Linked DNA regions of Homo sapiens: region 2 is linked to region 1. Evidence: promoter capture Hi-C in 16 types of primary human blood cells and fetal thymus (Javierre and others, 2016). All regions are on one chromosome and are shown on one strand. The core of a region is centred on a gene start or on the middle of the fragment in contact, and the rest is flanking DNA. Distances in the headings are between cores, read along the strand shown. Region 1 holds the start of ARF6 (ARF GTPase 6). Region 2 holds the start of ATL1 (atlastin GTPase 1).

Region 1 (3,521 bases), core at 739-3,238:
CAAAAACATAACCCAGGTGTCTAGATAAAAATTAAAAAAGGGCTAGGCGCGGTGGCTCTTGCCTGTAATGCCAGCACTTTGGGAGGCCGAGGCGGGCAGATCACTTGGGGCCAGGAGTTCCAGACCAGTCTGGCCAACATGGCAAAACCTGTCTCTACAAAAAATAGAGAAATTAGTCAGGCGTGGTGGCGCACGCCTTTAGTCCCAGATACTGGTGAGGCTGAGGTGGGAGGATCTCTTGAGCCTAGGAGGCTGAAGCTGCAGTGAGCTGACATCGCACCACTGCACTGCAGCCTTGGTGACAGAGCGAGACCTTGTCCCAAAAATAGAGAGGTGGGGTTGGGGATGACACTTGAACCCCAATCTTCAGACTCCTAAGCTTTTCAGTTTTATGACAGTGCTTCATCTTAAGGTAAATGGAAAGTAAATGAAATAATTGTTAGAATATTAATGTTTAATAAGTTTATTTCCGACTGAAATGACGTTTATAAGGTTATCATATAACCTATCTACCATTATCTAATATTTTAAATTTGTTTAATAAAAACAGTATGTTACCATATGCTGTTTATAGCATCTTGCTTTTTAAACAAAGATACCCATTTCCTGTTTTTCTCCCCTTGATATTTGAAGGTTTCACGTTATTTTAAGTCTAATTTTATCATTAACCATTTGATACAAAAATGTGTCCTTGGCAGGGCGCAGTGGCTCACGCCTGTAATCCCAGCATTTTGGGGGGCCGAGGCGGGTGGATCACCTGAGGTCAGGACTTCGAGACCAGCCTGGCCAACATGGTGAAACCCCGTCTCTACTAAAAATACAAAAATTAGCCGGGCGTGGTGGTGGGCGACCTAATTCCAGCTGCTCCGGAGGCTAAGGCAGAACTGCTTGAACCCAGGATGAGGAGGCTGCAGTGAGCCGAGATTGTGCAACTGGACTCCAGCCTGGGCGACAGAGTGAGACCCCGTCTCAAGAAACAAACAAAAACCAAAAAACCAAAAATGTGCCCTGAAGTCTTCCACATTGTATTATTTAAGCCTCACGTGAGTTAGCAAGGTCAGTTTACACGAGATAAACTTAGTAAGGTTAAGTGCCCAGATCCAGGCCATACAAGCGGTCGTTCTATATTCTAAATTCTATGCTTCTTAAAGTTAAGAATGGGTAGTAGTTAAGAAGCTACTACTAACAGTATGAGATAAAATGATATTTTAAAGATGAACAGATGTCGCATTCTAAAAAGGTGAAAACGCGGCAAGGCACAGGAACTCTTCATAATACTGCAGTTTTTAAGAAACATGGGCTGGTCTTGACGAGACCTATAGGCAGACAGGGCTCAAACATTCAAAAGAGCTGCAGAGTAAACTCAACTCCGGGAAAGCGCTGCACTGACTGGCAGATTCCACACGAGACACTGGCCTCCCACGTGTCTTTCAGGAAACATACAAAATTCAAGGGATAAAGGAAGCCAAGAAGGGGTTGCGAAAAAGGGAAAAAAAAAAAAAACAAAAGCGAACAGAGCTTCCCTGGGACGTTCAGGGAGCGCGGAGGGTGCGGGAAGGCTGGGGCGGGCGGAGGGAATTCGCAGAGCATCTGGCGGGCACCGAGGTCTGGGAACAGGCCTGGAGGCAGCTCGGTTCGTGGAGAGAGCGGGCTGCCCGTGGGCCCCACCCTGTAGGGCCCCCCAGTAGATCTGCTCCCTTGGTTCGGGTGGGCAGGGGAGGGCAGAGCGCAAAAGAGAAAAGCAGGGAAGGAGACGCTAGAAGAGCCACGGGTAGGCGCGAGTCAGAGTCCGAGGTTCGAGGGCTCTGGGCCGGCCGCATCTGCGAGCCCTCCGAGGCGCCGTAGCCCCGCCCCTCCGGCGCGTGGCGCCCATGACGCTAGGCGCGCGGGCCGCTCTCCTTACAGAGGTCGCTCTTGTCCGAACGGTCGGCCTCTGCTGCGCCTGCGTGGTCGGGAGGGGAAGTGAGGCGGTTTCCTCGGCGCCTTTTCCGGCAGCGGCGGCGGCAGAACTGGGAGGAGGAGTTGGAGGCCGGAGGGAGCCCGCGCTCGGGGCGGCGGCTGGAGGTAACCCCTTGGGCCGAGCTGGAAAGGCGGGCCACCTCGGTCTTCGCTCCTTTGTGGAGCTCTGGCAGTAACTCCCCTCCCTCTCTGTTTCTCTGCAGGCAGCGCACCGAGTTCCCGCGAGGATCCATGACCTGACGGGGCCCCGGAGCCGCGCTGCCTCTCGGGTGTCCTGGGTCGGTGGGGAGCCCAGTGCTCGCAGGCCGGCGGGCGGGCCGGAGGGCTGCAGTCTCCCTCGCGGTGAGAGGAAGGCGGAGGAGCGGGAACCGCGGCGGCGCTCGCGCGGCGCCTGCGGGGGGAAGGGCAGTTCCGGGCCGGGCCGCGCCTCAGCAGGGCGGCGGCTCCCAGCGCAGTCTCAGGGCCCGGGTGGCGGCGGCGACTGGAGAAATCAAGTTGTGCGGTCGGTGATGCCCGAGTGAGCGGGGGGCCTGGGCCTCTGCCCTTAGGAGGCAACTCCCACGCAGGCCGCAAAGGCGCTCTCGCGGCCGAGAGGCTTCGTTTCGGTTTCGCGGCGGCGGCGGCGTTGTTGGCTGAGGGGACCCGGGACACCTGAATGCCCCCGGCCCCGGCTCCTCCGACGCGATGGGGAAGGTGCTATCCAAAATCTTCGGGAACAAGGAAATGCGGATCCTCATGTTGGGCCTGGACGCGGCCGGCAAGACAACAATCCTGTACAAGTTGAAGCTGGGCCAGTCGGTGACCACCATTCCCACTGTGGGTTTCAACGTGGAGACGGTGACTTACAAAAATGTCAAGTTCAACGTATGGGATGTGGGCGGCCAGGACAAGATCCGGCCGCTCTGGCGGCATTACTACACTGGGACCCAAGGTCTCATCTTCGTAGTGGACTGCGCCGACCGCGACCGCATCGATGAGGCTCGCCAGGAGCTGCACCGCATTATCAATGACCGGGAGATGAGGGACGCCATAATCCTCATCTTCGCCAACAAGCAGGACCTGCCCGATGCCATGAAACCCCACGAGATCCAGGAGAAACTGGGCCTGACCCGGATTCGGGACAGGAACTGGTATGTGCAGCCCTCCTGTGCCACCTCAGGGGACGGACTCTATGAGGGGCTCACATGGTTAACCTCTAACTACAAATCTTAATGAGCATTCTCCACCCATCCCCTGGAAGGAGAGAAATCAAAAACCCATTCATAGGATTATCGCCACCATCACCTCTTTCAATTGCCACTTTCTCTTCTTTTGAATTTGAACTCTGGAGTTACTGTTCTACAGTTTGGCGGGGACGGGGCTTGGGGGTTTTCTCTTTTGTTTGTTTCCCTTTCTTTTTCCTTTTTTTTTTTTTTTTTTTTTTGTTGGCTTTGCGTTAGGATGCTCTGATCTGACATTTGACATGAACACAAAGTTGCTAGATGCTCTTGTTGACTTCCAGCAGATGGGATGGGGGAAACACAGCAGTTCTTGGTAAAGTCCTTTGTAATAATAGTTTGATT
Region 2 (3,521 bases), core at 603-3,102, 670 kb after region 1:
AGGTTGTAGTGAGCTGAGATCACGCCACTGCACTCCGGCCTGGGCAACAGAGGGAGACTGTGTCTGGAAAACAAACAAACAACAGATAATGATTTTAAAGCCTCCATTTAAAAAATCACTAATATGAAATTGATTCAGGCAAGGATCAATGGATGCTAAAATCAGTGGATGAAAAGTTATTGGCCAATAGTACAAAAAGTCACATACAGAGAGCTATTTATTTAAGCATTTTTTTGTGATTCACACAGTCTCAAAGTATTCACCTGCAGATTACTTACTAATTATAAACACAACAGGTTTTTAAAAAATTAATTTCTTTTTCAATTGGGCATAGGTGTTGAATTATATAAATTTTTTCTTTTTTGTGTGTAATCTATTGTACTCTTAAAAATGGGATTCATATGAAAGGGATTTTCAGGCTGGAATGTAAGCTGAGAATGATAGTAAAGGAATATAAGAAGAAAAGCAGACCACACTTCTCTTTTGTTCTATGAACTTGGTTTATAGGTATAAGGATGAGATAATGTCTGTCTTCCTATGTTGTTTCATTAATGTCATTTCAACTCTGTTGAGCACAGACTTCTTTAAAACCATGTTGTAAACTTGGTTACAGTGTTCACGACTCTGCAGTCACTAGAACCAGTAACTGAAATATAATGCATAAGATTTGGCAGTGGTGGGGGAGTTTGTTTTCAGATATGTTGATGTTCAAATGTCAGTAGGAAAACAACGTGAGGATAACCTTAGGCAGTTATAAACACACCTCTGGTATAATGTCCTCTCTTCTAGAGGGCAGAAGACTACAAGTATAGATTTGGGAATCATCAGCATGGAGGTCCTGTCTGAAGCCATCATAGTAAATTACATTGAGAGAGTGTAGCGTGAGGAGTTGCTTACCATGAGGAATTAGCAGAGATCATGGATCTGGTAATTAAGAGGCTGGCAGTGATCTCCTAAGAACCGATCAGTACAGAGTGTGAGTAACAACCAAATGGCAGAAGGAAACTGTAAGGGACGGCATGATGGTATCTTGAGGTTGAGGTAGTATAAAGGGACAGTGTTTCCAGGTTACTGAAAACAACTAAGTTTGTAGCAGAGAGAAAGCAGTGAAAAGGGAAAGATTGAAAGTATTTTTATTTTTTTTCTTTTCCTTTCAAAATTGTCTGCAACCTTTATGGCTGCCAGGGCCCACCCATACCCAGACTATGTAGTATGATTTCAGCTCAAATAATTGCTATTGGACTATAGGTCTGGACCTTATCTTTGCAAATCTAGTGGGAAATTTTACCCAGTGGATATTGAGTTACAGATCGTAATGAATCTACAGCTTTCATTTATCTTGATCTTCTTGATATAAATTTTGCTATTCTAATTTTAAGACAAACTACTCAGTATACATATACAAAAATGCATGATACCCTCTTTACTAACATGACCTTGCTTTTAAAATGGAAAAAAAAATGGGTGCCTCGTAGATAAATGCACATTATTTTAGCTACTTTGGCTATATAAATGTTGCCAGCTTGTTTGTACTAATGTATAACCGTGCTTGAAACAGGTATTTGAACATCCAGAATCATGCAGTATATCGGTTTGTGTATTTCTGATAACGCTGTTAAATTCTTTGAGAGTGTGTTCGAGGGGGGTGCTGTTTATTTGTTTGTGTTTTCCGTTGAAAATGTTGCGGTACGTGGTCTATCACTGTCTTCACGGTCTGGGGGTGGACTGAGGTAGGGAGGGTGTGACGCTGGTATCTGTGTGAACTCGGGCTTGTGATGCTGAGCTTGGTTCATCTGCTTTCTCCTCCCTTTTCCTCCCCACTCCTTCCCACCAGCGCCACAGCAACATCCTCAGAGTCTGAGCGAACTGCGCCCAGCGCGGGCACGGAGCCTCCCACCGCCAGCAACCTGCGGCCCCGGAGAAGGCAGCGAGCGCAGTGACAGCGCCTCACCGCCACCAGCTCCTGGACCACCATGGCCAAGAACCGCAGGGACAGAAACAGTTGGGGTGAGTAGCAAATGAGAACTTCTGCAGCCTGCACGGGGTCTTCTGGCCCTCCACTTTCTGCTTCTGTGGAGACAGGGAGGGCCAAGGGCTGCTAGGTGCCTGCGTCCACGGCTGGGAGACGGGCCGTAGCCGAGCCGCTCCCTGTTTGGGCGGAGGAACCATGGCCGAGCGGTACCCGCGTCACCGAATCGCGCTGTCGGGGTGAGGGCTGCAGCTTCGCGCAGGCCGGGCCTCCAGCTCCTTCTTCCCCACCCCCCTCCCGCCTCCTCCCAGCATTTGGACAGCACCCACCAGGCGCCTCCGGGGACTTGTGGGTTCCGCCTTAGCGATCGGTTGGGAGGAAGGCTATGGGGGTGGGCAGGGGGCTGTTGTTACTCGGCCCCAGAGGGGCGAGGGGTCGGGGATCTAGAGCAGGCCAAGCCCCAACCCCCCTCCCCGGGAGCCGCCAACTCGCTGGCTCTGCAGGGCGCGGGCTCCCGGCGGCGGGCGGCGGGCGGCGCGCTGGAACAATGAGGCGGAGCGCGCCGGGTCCCGGACGGACGGTAGCAGACCGAGCAACTGGGAGAAGGGCCACCCTCTTGGGAATTCCTGAGCACTGCAGTACTCCTCTTAATTTGGGGGTTGGGTGGGGGAATTGGGGAAGAAGGAGAGCAAAGTTGTGGTTTCCAGCCTTCTGCCCCACCCCGACGTGGTACCCCATTCAGACCAGCCCCAAGGGTGGCTTTGTTCTTTGATTTTACCTTTTGGAGACATTGGGCTCATGATTCAGCACCAGGCCGAGGGGAGGGGAAAGGAGAGGCGAGACCCAGTATGTTCACACCGCGAGTGGGTGGGCGGTGCTCACGCAGGCGGAGAAGAACGGGCGCAGCGATGCGGAAGAAATCGCGGCCCCGCCCGCCTTGCTGCTCCAGACCTAGTTCTGGACGGTTAGTGTGGGCAGGCTGGGCGTCTTTTTGTCGTAGGTTCCCGATTTCTTGCAGTCACAGTGCTAAACTCACCAGCATCTTAGGAACGAAAGCCCTCTAAGGCATTTATTTTATTATCTGAACCAGAGAATGTCTCAGGCTACTGTGGCTTGGTGGGTAAATAAATATTTTGTTCATCAGCTTGTTATTTAGAAATTGTTATTTGGAAATAACAGTTGTTATTATTTGAAAAGTTCAGAGCTGCTTGATTCTGTTCCACATCTCAGTGAGAGCTCTTCTATAACTGTTTATTTGAGCGAGAGGCACAAATGTAAATTTTAATTGGTTATTTCAGTTTACTTTAATCAAAAGACCGTGTATCTCCTTGCCTCTGATTGTTCTAATGGTCACAGGATACGGTAGACAAGGTTTACATTTGGGAGATTATCCAAGGTTTGTGGTAGGCATGGAGAGTTGGAGCGGGGAGGTCTGTCATGACTTAGCTGAGTTTAAGAGAAAGTGGTTCCATTTTCTGAGATCATGAAACTTCAGTTTTAACAGACCTACCTGACTATTGCAATAAGTTTTATTTCCTTCTTCTGAAATTTA

The links. The method cuts DNA at HindIII sites, captures the fragments that hold promoters and counts their contacts. A CHiCAGO score of 5 or more calls a contact.
Region 2: the fragment with the promoter of ATL1 here is called in contact with the fragment with the promoter of ARF6 in region 1 in 1 of 17 cell types (fetal thymus); the score reaches 5.3 in fetal thymus.

Annotation. Positions count from the first base shown.
Region 1 is chr14:49,891,094-49,894,614 of GRCh38, forward strand. ARF6 (ARF GTPase 6) reads left to right here and starts at 1,989. Exons shown (of 2, transcript NM_001663.4): 1 at 1,989-2,064; 2 at 2,163-3,521. The coding sequence starts at 2,644. The coding sequence ends at 3,171. RefSeq lists enhancers at 1,549-1,648, 2,519-2,838, 2,869-2,918 and silencers at 1,739-2,128, 2,169-2,358. The HindIII fragment of the contact is 6,329 bases long and covers 378-3,521 here.
Region 2 is chr14:50,558,293-50,561,813 of GRCh38, forward strand. ATL1 (atlastin GTPase 1) reads left to right here and starts at 1,853. Exons shown (of 14, transcript NM_015915.5): 1 at 1,853-2,007. The coding sequence starts at 1,974. It also overlaps a transcript of MAP4K5 not described here. RefSeq lists an enhancer at 1,947-2,446 and a silencer at 2,188-2,547. The HindIII fragment of the contact is 3,968 bases long and covers 1-3,521 here.